2 separate regions of the Homo sapiens genome follow, and region 1 is linked to region 2. The links are contacts of gene promoters, found by promoter capture Hi-C in human tissues and cell types (Jung and others, 2019). All regions are on one chromosome and are shown on one strand. The core of a region is centred on a gene start or on the middle of the fragment in contact, and the rest is flanking DNA. Distances in the headings are between cores, read along the strand shown.

What was found. The method cuts DNA at HindIII sites, captures the fragments that hold promoters and counts their contacts. A contact is called where the count stands out against the background at its distance.
Region 1: a contact is called between a fragment that was not itself captured here and the fragment with the promoter of SEL1L2 in region 2, in 1 of the 25 tissues and cell types used here (mesendoderm cells).

Annotation. Positions count from the first base shown.
Region 1 is chr20:14,034,600-14,040,063 of GRCh38, forward strand. The region is part of intron 2 of MACROD2 (mono-ADP ribosylhydrolase 2); the gene reads left to right. Among named protein-coding and RNA genes, the nearest start is that of MACROD2, 42 kb to the left of the region's middle. The HindIII fragment of the contact is 5,742 bases long and covers 1-5,178 here.
Region 2 is chr20:13,988,347-13,994,402 of GRCh38, forward strand. It overlaps SEL1L2 (SEL1L2 adaptor subunit of SYVN1 ubiquitin ligase), which reads right to left and starts at 2,268. Exons shown (of 20, transcript NM_025229.2): 1 at 2,131-2,268. The coding sequence starts at 2,188. It also overlaps the pseudogene TRE-CTC10-1. The HindIII fragment of the contact is 28,140 bases long and covers 1-6,056 here.

The DNA of each region.
Region 1 (5,464 bases), core at 1,058-3,557, 46 kb after region 2:
ATCAACTGCATTATTTTTGCCAGTATGAATGTTTTGCTATTTTTAAAATCATGAGTGAGATTAAACCTGTTTTAACATTCGTCAGCCGTTTATTATAACAAATAACATTTATTGAGCACTTACATGGGCTAGGCACTGTTCTAAGTGGGTTGCATATTCATTTAATGAATTGTTTCCTCACATCATTTGCTCATTTAAAAAAATGTTTTTTCTTAGTGAACTAAGAGTTCATTGTACATTAAGAAAATTACCTTTAATCATATGTATTGCAGATTTTTTCCATTTTACTTATTGTCTTGATGTGTATGTATACATTTTATACACAGTTTTACATTTTTATGTGCTTAGATTATGTTTTATGATTTTTTTCTTCTTGGTCTTAATCGGTTTTGGTTAAGCTTATTGCTTAACCATGAATATGATCATTTTTACCATATAATTTCCTAATTGGTTATTGCTCAGTTATAGGTAAGTGTTGATTTTCAAATACTGGTGTTGAACTCTGTTATTCATCAGTCTTTTAAGGCATACTCTTGGACTTTATAGGTAGATGATAAAAGCTTCTGCAAGTATTTTTATAGCTTTGTACTTGCTATTTCTCTTTCTTTTCCTTTGCATTAGCTAAGGTCACCAGTACAGTGTTAAACAATAGTGCTCATAGCAGGCATTCTTGCCTTGACTTTAATGCATTTTGTTATTCAGTGAGATTTATTCATGTATTAATTAATATGATAGTAATTTTACTGTTTAGGAGCACTTATTTTCAGGGAAAGTAGCCTACTAATTAGACATTAACAAGAAGGTAAAGATACCTAACTTTTATATCAGTATGTGGTCTTGTGCAAACAGTGTATTCTCAACTCTCCCATTTATATAGTGAGGATAATTATTAATCTGTAATGTAAAATTCCTGTAAATGACTAAGCAATATGTAAAATATCAGAGCCCACATATTAAAGTATCATCATATGACAGGTTGCCATTTGTTGAGTTATTTTCAAGTGCTTACGGATATTTTACACTGGGGCATGACTTCTGAGTTCGTGGAAAATTTTTTGTTCTGAATTTTTCAGAATGGCTGATCTGAATAATAACGTATATGGTTCATCAGCATAATATGAGTAAAGCCTATTCAAACCTTTACATTTCTTTCCTGTCGGTTCCCAAAATTATTCAGAGAAATGGAGGGGTAAAGTAGTATAGATAAACAAAATTGTTCATCACCAGCCCATGTTTGAAATATACCATTAAGATAGACAGCGGCTGGGCGCGGTGGCTGACGCCTGTAATCCCAACACTTTGGGAGGCCAAGGCGGGCGGATCACGAGGTCAGGAGATTGAGACCATCCTGGCTAACATGGTGAAACCCCGTCTCTACTAAAAATACAAAAAATTAGCCAGGCGTGGTGGCGGGTGCCTGTAGTCCCAGCTAGTCTGGAGGCTGAGGCAGGAGAATGGCGTGAATCCAGGAGGTGGAGCTTGCAGTGAGCCTAGATGGCGCCACTGCACTCCAGCCTGGGTGACAGAGCGAGACTCCGTCTCAAAAAAAAAAAAAAGCTAGCAGACAGCAGTTATTCAATAATGAATAAGACACGATTTCTGCCTTTTTGAATTGTATATGAGGTTAAGTAGCCTTTACTTGTCTTCCCAAGTGAGATTTACTGAAACTAACATTTTAGTAGTCTCCCATTCCTAGCACAATGCCTGGAATCTGTTGGGTTCTCAGTACATTTTTGCTTAGTGTACTTGAACTTCAGTGTTTATGAAACATAGATTCCTGCATATTCTGGTTCAGTAGGTATTAATTAGGACCCAGGAGTCTGCACTGTTAACAAGCACCTCAGGGTGTTTTCCGGTGGTTTCTCTTAATAAATACAAAGAAAATTTTCTGAAGAGAGATGTTATATTCATCTCATAGAAAATCAATTTTGGGTGGGAGGAAGTTTCACTGTAATCTTCATGCCTTATACAAAGGTAACTTTGCCTTTTACTTCAGACTTCAGCTTTTCATTTAAGAGGAATCTGTATATTTAGCACAGTCGTGGGTTGTTGGTATCCACTTAGTAAATATCTATTGATTACCTTATTTTTCCCTGCTCTGTCATCCAGGCTAGAGTGCCCTGCCGCAATCTTGGCTCACTGCCACCTCTGCCTCCCAGGCTCAAGCGATTCTCCCACCTCAGCCTCCCGAGTAGCTGGGACCACTGGTGTGCACCACCACGCCTAGCCACTTTTGTGTTTTTTGTAGAGACGGGGTTTTGCCATGTTTCCCAGACCATGTTGATTATTCAGCATTGATTACTTGCAGTAATTATGGAATTAGTTTTTAATTTACTAATCCAGCGTTTTGTGGTAAAGTTACAATTTTAAATGTAGTTTAAAAATAAAACGTTTTTAAACTGGTCTCTGTTTTTCCTCCTTGGGACCTTGTCATAGCTTAGGTGGAGCTTGAAATAATGAAGCGTGTCAGATGTGGCATAACATGGTTTTTTAATGACCAAAATGTAACTTTTATTTTAAAGGGTATTATATACCTGGTTATATTGAAAGGTAGCCTTGAGATGTATAAGAGCCTTCTTTGTATTGTTACACACTCTTCCAAAATATGGACAAATCATAAATGATGAAAACATGATTGCAATTTTGTAGAATTTACTAGTTTTGGCATCATTAATTTGGCCAAAATACATGTAATAATGGGAATTTAATGCATTATAGGTTTCTATAAAAATTCTACAATTATAGAAATATTTTTACAGTGTCCTATTCAGTAATTAATAAAGCCTTCTTTCATGCAATTATAAATGAATACCAATGTCCTATTCAGTAATTAGTAAAGGCTTCTTTCATGCAGTTATAAACAGATACCAATATTTTGTATTGGTGGACGTGAAAATATTTATTTGGTAATCTTAGTAAGGGATGCATATTTTTTGATTGAAGACTATGCATTTACCCAGCTCAAAGGAATGGATATTTTATTTTTGAATTTAACTCAGTGATGTCGCTAATCTATGTGAACACGCCAACTGTGTGTGTGTTGGTGGGGGGGGTAGTTAGTAACCATGGAGCTAAGGATTGATGAAGGTTGGTGATAAAGGGAAACATTCCCTTGGAATTAAGACATTGTTCCTTGCTGGGTGCAGTGGCTCATGCCTGTTACTCCAGCACCTTGGGAGGAGGCTGAGGCGGGTGGATGGTTTGAGCCCAGAATTTCCACACCAGCCTGTGCAATGTGGTCTCTACAAAAAAAAACCCCAAGAAAATTAGCCCAGCATGGTGGTGCGAGCCTGTAGCCTCGGCTACTCAGGAGGTTGAGGTGGGCGGATTGAGGCCAGAAGCGGGAGGCAGCAGTGAGCTTGTGAGGGTACGGGGGCGAGATAACTGTCTCAATTAAAAAACAAACAAACAAAAACCAGGCGCAGTGGCTCACGCCTATTATCCCAGCACTTTGGGAGGCCGAGGCAGTGGATCACTTCACGTCAGGAGTTTGAGACCAGCCTGGCCAATATGGTGAAACCCCGTCTCTACTAAAAATACAAAAATTATCTGGGTGTGGTGGTGGGTGCTAGTAGTCCCAGCTACTCAGGAGGCTGAGGCAGGAGAATTGCTTGAACCCAGGAGGCAGAGGTTGCAGTGAGCCGAGATCGTGCCACTGCACTCCAGCCTGGGCCACAGAGTGAGAGACTCCGTCTCAAAAAAAAAAAAAGATTCTGTGTATTAGACACATAAAGCACTTGTGTGCCAGGTATAGTTGTGTTTTACAAATATTGACTTATTTAATGACTACAATAACTCCATGAAGTAAGTACAATTATTATTTCTTTTTACAAATCAGGAAACTGAGGCACAGAGAAGTTAGAGAACTTGCCCAACGTCATACTGCTGTTGAGTGGCAAAGTTGGGATTTGAACCCAGACCTTCTATCCTCTTCACCTTTGTTAATGCTGCCTTTTGTTTCCTGAAAGCATTGCTGGTGTGTTTATGCGTTATGTCTTTACTACTAATTATATTTGATTTTTGGAAAGATGTGGTATTTTATGCTGTGCATTATGTCGTTTTTGTGGTTTATAATTCATAATGCCATGATGTTTTTAATTTAACAAACAAGTATTAGAAAAGGTAAAGTTGTTGTATATAATAACTTTGCTAATAATCACTGAACGTTGTCTCAGCAAGTATATGTGTAATGAATATAAATTTATACCATTAAAAAAAAGTAGCCATTCATTCATTCACATTTTCTTGTAATTCTGCTTGTTTCCATATTTGCACTTAAGATCTGTTGAACGTTAAAACAAATTTGCTTCCTTAGATTTTTTAACCAGTCACCATTTTTTTAAGTTGGTAGGATGGGCCATATTGAAGATAAACTATATTTTACAAATTTTATCAGCATGCTCTATGAACTTGCTTCTCAAACTGGAGTATTAACATATGTATGTGTTTTTACCAGGGTGTTTGTGAAGCTACACATAAAAGTATTACTCTTTTAAAGTACCATTTCTAGTTCTAAAGATTGGTGAGGGTGGAAATATTAAGTACTTTAAATTTTCAGCTTTTAAAAATTTTTTATGTTGAAACTAAATGATTTTTAAGAAGCAAAGAATTTCACATAAATTATGGTTGACCATCCTAGAGACCATGAAGGTTGTATTAATTCATTCCATGGAAAACTTTTAGGAGTACTTGATTATATTTGAAGTAAATTGGTATCTTGGAAAGTTGTGAAATTGGTGAACCTGCCATACCAAAATGGTAAACAAAAACAAAACTTTCCTGGGGTACTGAAAAGAATGATGTTACCAAAGGCACGTCTTGTTTTAAATCTTATGTTTTATTTTTTTCTTTAATCTTAACAAACCCCACTTTTAAATAAATCCTTAGTAAAATTAGGATTTATTTGGGGCTGTTAATTTACAAAAGGATTGATTGTGATATTCCTTTAAATAGCTTGCTTCTTCAGTTTACAAATGTTCATTATATTCATAATGTTCAGGCCTGCATATAAATAAAGCAGGGAAAACCGGTGATAGATACTTAGTTTTTTAACTATAAAACATCCTGGTAAAAACATTAAAAGGTTGTAAATTGGGGAACCTGTATAGCCAGTGTGTTTTTTAGGTTGGCATATATAAGTGATATTGATATAATTGTCTTTTGTTTCATTCTAAATACTGAGCTTAGGGCTTGAATTTGCCATCTGTTTTTTTTTTTTTATTAAGTATGACCATTAAAACAGGAATAATTTGATTGAAGACTACGCATTTACCCAGCTCAAAGAAATGGATATTTTATTTTTGAATTTAACTCAGTGATGTCGCTAATCTATGTGAACATTGTAGAGTGACATAAATGTCTTCTTTAGAGTATCCAGATGGAAATTGTGGCACAATGCTTTTGTATTTCAGTGACTTCAGAAAGAAGGTAGGCCTTTAGGAGAGTATCTGGGGAACCTTTCAAT
Region 2 (6,056 bases), core at 1,018-3,517:
TGTTTTATTTATTTTTTTCAAATTCATTTTTTTCATGTGGTTATCCAGTTGTCCCAGCACCATTTGTTGGAGAGATTATCTCCTCCTGCACCTCCCACACTGAGTTTTCATGGCATCTTTGCCAAAAATCAGTTGATGATAAGTGTGATAGTTTACTTGTAAAACTCTCAATTCCATTCCAGTAACCTATATGTCTATCTTCACATCAGGACCATACTGTCTTGATTACTGTAGCTTTGTAGTAAGTTTTGAAATTGGGAAGTGTGAGTCCTCCAACTCCATTCTTCTTTTTCAGGAACATTTTTTTCCATATGAATTTTAAGACCAGTTTGCCAATTTTTGAAAAGAAGTCAGCTGGGATTTTGATAAAGATTGTGTTGAAGCCCAGATGCGGTGTGATTCATTCCTGTAATCCCAGCACTTTGGCAGGCTTAGGCGGGTGAATCACCTGAGGTCAGGAGTTAAAGACCAGCCTGGCCAACATGATAAAACCCCGTCTCTACTAAAAATACAAAAAATTAGCCAGGCGTGGTGGCAGACGACTGTAATTCAGTTACTTGGGAGGCTGAGGCAGGAGAACGGCTTGAACCCAGGCAGCGGAGGTTGCAGTGAGCCGAGATCACGTCATTGCACTCCAGCCTGGGCAACAAGAGCGAAACTCCATCTCAAAATAAATAAATAAACAAATAAATAAAGATTGTGTTGAATATGTAGATCAATTTGGAGAGTATTGCCATCTTACCAATATTAAGTTCTCCAATTCATGAACATGGGAAGTCTTTTCATGTAGTGAAGTCTTCTTTAACTTCTTTAAACAATTTTTGTGGTCATCAGAATATGAGTTTCACACTTTTTTTGTAAAATTTATTCTTAAGTAGTTCATTTTTGATACTATTATAAAGTTTCTTTCATAATTTCATTTTTGGTTTGCTCACTGCTACTGTATAGAAATAGAACTTTTTTTTTGTATTTATCCTGCATTTGTTATGGAGCTCATTTATTAGTTCTAATAGTTTCGTAGTTGATTCCATACGATTTTCTGTATACAAGATCATGTCTTCTGTGAATACAGATCATTTTACTTCTTTCTTTCCAAGCTTGATATCTTCTACTTTTGTTTCTTGTGTAATTGCCATAGCTAGAACTTCCAGTACAATGTTGAACAGAAATGGCAAAAGTGGACATCCTTGTCTTATTCCTGATGTTAGGGATGAAGCAGTCAGTCTTTCACCATTAAATATAGTAGCTTTGGGTTTTCAATATCTTCTATCAGGTTGATAAAGTTTCCTTCCATTCTTAGTTTGTCACACATTTTTATCACAAAGCCTGTTGAATTTTGTCAAATGCTTTTACTAGATTAGAATGATCATGTGATCTTTGTCTTTTATTCTGTTGATGTGATTGTTACATTGATTTATGGGTGGTAAACCAATCTTACATTTCTGGGTAAAATCCAAATATTTCTTTTTTTTTCCTTTTCTCTGACAGGGAATTGAACCTGGGCTGTGGCAGTGAGAGTGCTGAATTCTAACCACTAGACAAGCAGGGACCAAATACATATTTCTTAAATTGAATTTATCATGAGCACATTATATGAGGATTGGGTAAAAAGTAACTAAAAAAATGGCCAAAGAAACAAGATGGAAAATAACTTCCATTTTCAGATAGTAACTATTTAGGAAACATTGAAACTTTGGAAGTGAAATTGTTATTGTGTAAATATTTTAAAAAAGCATGTTTATACATCTTTCACACTCTTTGAGTCTTATATTTTTCCTTTAAAGTCTTGGAACTAGACCTTTATGATATTCTAAATTTAATAACACTTAACAACTTGCCCTAAATATCCCTACTTTATAACAATTACTGTAGTGGTTTCCTCATAGATTTGTTTTTTCCCCATCCCCCACACCCTTCCCAAGTACACACCCTTCCCAAGTATTATCCCAAGTGAGACTATCATTATCATCTATTATTCTTATTGGACATTTTAAAGTACCTGTACAAAAATGGCATTAGTTAGGGATATAGTAAAGTTACTTCTAGTCTTTTAATTGGCTTCTGCCCTTGGCGCTGTTTGAGCAAAGAGAAGAGACCCTCATAGAGAACTCTAAGGACAAAAAAACTTACTTTTAATTGTGACCCCAAGAATTATCAATATCTCTATTAACAGAGACAAGGGCTTCATCTTCTCTTAAGCAGCTTCTCTTCACTGTAACACAGGCAGAAACTAGGTGATTGGCCCAAGAGCTCCTCTTCTCAGGGACTGTGGTGGGGGCAGGAGTCAGTTGCTAAGCAACCATTTCCTTACTCTTGGGCCAATGGGCTGCCAGAGTGTTCCTTTCAAGCCGGAATGAAGGCAGCTGCTGGAGAATGTAGGCTGTGGAAAGGATCCACTGCTATTCCTCTGGCTGAAGATAAGGGGTAGGCTAGAAATTAGGGGTGGCTCTCTAACATGAAAGGAAGGGACCAGAAGTCCGACTCGTACGTGTCCACACGTTCAACTGTGTTCAGGGGTGCTGGAAGTTCTTATTTTTATGTTGCCTCTAGAGGTACAAACTACACTTATGTAAAAACACAATTAAGGTACATGAACTGATCTGACATCATCCTGTAAGCTGGTATCTCTAGGCTATGGCGGAAAAGAAACAATGGGCCAAGTCTGCTTTGTTCCCAATCTGGATGAAAATCTTTATCCTCTTTTCCAGTTAGAAACTGCTGAGGATTTACTGGAACAAAGGCAAACAAAGACTGTTTAACAATGTCTTTACATACCTCAGATAATACAGACATCTCACAAGTGGTACCTTCAAAGCTACGAGAAATCAAAATGAATATTTAGGGAAAACATATAAATATTAAAAATATCCAAGGCACAGAGCTAGTTGAGAAATTATGCCTACAAAAAATATCCAACTTTTACAGTCTGTCCAGGTCATTACTTTAGAAATAGACATTTTATTGTTTTGAATTTACAGTTTTATTCCTTTTATTAGTTTCCCATTGCTGTGATAACAAATTACCACAAACGTAATGGGTTAAAACAACAGGAATTTATTCTCTCATAGTTCTAGAGACCAGAATTCCAAAACCATTCTTACAGGGCTAAAATCAAAGACAAGGCTAGCTCCTCCTGGAGGCTCCAGGGAAGAATCCATTCTTGGCCTGGAATTTTTCAGCTTCTAAGTGGCTGCCAGCATTCCTTGATTTGTGACCACATCATTTCAGTCTCTGCTCAGTCATCACTTGCCTTCTGTAGTTTAATCTCCCTTTGTGCCCCTCTTATAAAGATACTTGTGATTACATTTAGGGCCCACCAACATGATCCAGAACAATCTCTCTCTCTCTCAAGATCCTTAATGTTGGCTGGGCGTGGCAGCTCACACTTGTAATCCCAGCACTTTGGGAGCCTAAGGCAGTTGGATTACTTGAGGCCAGGAGTTCGAGACCAGGCTGACCACCATGGCGAAACCCCGTGTCTACTAAAAATACAAAAATTAGCTGGACGTGGTGGTATGCGCCTGTAGTTTCAGGTACTCAGGAGGCTGAGGCATGAGAAGTGCTTGAATCCTGGGGCCAGGGGCCTGAGGGGTGGAGGTTGCAGTGAGCAGAGATTGTGCCACTGCAATGCAGCCTGAGCGACAGAGTGAGACTCCATCTCAAAACAACAACAACAAACCCAAACTTCTTTATAGGAAAATCAATGAGCAATGAAGGCATATAAGGGGAAGCGGCAAACAAAGGTCAGGTAGGGTCAGAGTCAGGGAAGGCTTTGCTAGGGAGTGATGTTCAAGCTGAAATATGAAGAACGAGAGTGAGTCAGCTAAACAAATCATGTCCCAGGTGTTGCAATGAACATGTTAAGAGGCTATGTGGGCTGGGTGCCGTGGTTCATGCCTGTAATCCCAGTACTTTGGGAGGCTGAGGCAGGTGGGTCATCTGAGGTCAGGAGTTCAAGACCAGCCTGGCCAACATGGTGAAATCCCGTCTCTACTAAAAATACAAAAATTAGCCGGGCATGGTGGTAGATGCCTGTCATCTCAGCTACTCGGGAGGCTGAGGCAGGAGAATTGCTTGAACCTGGGAGGCAGAGGTTGCAGTGAGCCAAGATCGCGCCATTGCATTCCAGCCTGGGCAACAAGGGTGAAACTCCGTCTCAAAAAAGAAAAAGGCTATATGGTGTTCCAGAACATGAAATGATGCTCTGTGGGCTGGAATCAGAGACTGGGGAATGGGGGTGGTATGGAGCATAGTATAAAATAAGGCTGGGTTAGTAGGTGATAGTCACTCCATTCTTAATAATTTAATTGTTATAAAAAGACTGTATTAGCCTGTATGCAACAAAATAATATAGACTGGGTGACTTTACACAGCAGAAATTAATTTTCTCAGTTCTGATGGCTAGAAATCTGAGACCAGGTTCTGGTGAGGGTCTTCTTCCTGCTTGCAAGATGGCTACCTTCTTGCTGTGTCCTCATATAGCAGGGAAAGGGGGTGGGAGGAGAGGATGAAAGAGATCTCCCTCTTCTTATAAGGCCTCAGTCCTATTAACCTCACTCACCCTTATGACCTCATTTAAACTTAATTACTTCGTAAAGACCTAATCTCCACATTTAGTCACATTGGAGATTAGGGCTTCAACATATGAATTTTGGGTGCACGTAAGTCAGTCCATAGTAAAGACCACCAGAAAGTCATTGAATGACTTACAGAAGTGAGAAGACGTGATCACTTCTGACAAGGTATCACTAGATGCAGTCTAGACAATGGACAGAAGAGGGGCAACAGTGGGCATGAAGGCCACTTAGGAAGTCTTTGCAATAGTCCAGCTAAATTCAGACTAAGTTTACTGCAATGCTGTTGGAAAGTAGTGATTCCAGACTTATACAGACCGCTCAATAAAATTGCGTAGGTATAGCAACCGATTTGATATGAGAGTGAAGTTATAAGAGGTACCAGGGATGGTGCTTAGGTTTCCAGATTTTTCAACTAAACGGGTAATGGAGCCATTCGAAGAGATGGGGAAAACTGGGAGAAGGAGCATGAGTTCAGTTTGGTACACGGCACATTTCAAGTACTTTAGGGATGTTAAATATTTAACAGTTTTGAATGATAATGGTATTTTGTCAGAGTGATTAATACTAAATGCTGGAACAAATGCCCTCTACATACTTTTAATGTGCTTTCACACAATAAAAGTTCCAGTTCTTTGAGCTGACATGAAAGAAAAGATAATCAATAGTGTAATGTTCCTAAGAAAGCACATGTGGAAGGACTGGCTGGAGGCTGGAGTGCAAACAGCTTCTCTGTTGAAGGGAAGGTGTCTAGTATGATGTACTTGTCTTACCTTTCACATTTCTACATAAGAAGTCAATATCTTTTCTACAAAATCTGCAACTGTTCCCATATTGCTTAATATTAGCATTGCTATTTTGCCCCCTTACCCATCCTATGAAATGTTTTTCTTTTCTTCCTCACCTTTCTTTCAAAATCTATTGCATTATCAGGTTTTATTTATTCTTCCCTGGTAATGTCTCTAATCAAAGACCTCTTTCTATTTCTAGTGCCAATAAATAAGTACATATTTTTATTACTAGCTCAAATGTCACTTCCTTCTTGAAGCCTTCTTTATTTATCCCAAATCTATTTTTTTTCGTATTTCACAGCATTAAAAGAAAAACAGGCTGGGCACGGTGGCTCACGCCTGTAATCCCAGCACTTTGGGATCACTTGAGGTCAGGAGGTCAAGACCAGCCTGGCCAACACGGTGAAAACCCATGTTTACTAAAAAAATACAAAATTAGCCAGGCATGGTGGCGCATGCCTGTAATCTCAGCTACTCCAGAGGCTGAGGCAGGAGAATTGCTTGAACCTGGCAGAAAGAGGTTGCAGTGAGCTGAGATGGAGCCATTGCCCTCCAGCTGGGGGACAAGAGTGAAACTCTGCCTCAAAAAAAAAAAAAAAAAAAAAAAAAGACAAAACAAAAATTACCTTACCATGTTGTGAATCATCCTTATGAGAGTGTCCTACTACTAAAAATATTCCATTCTTTACAA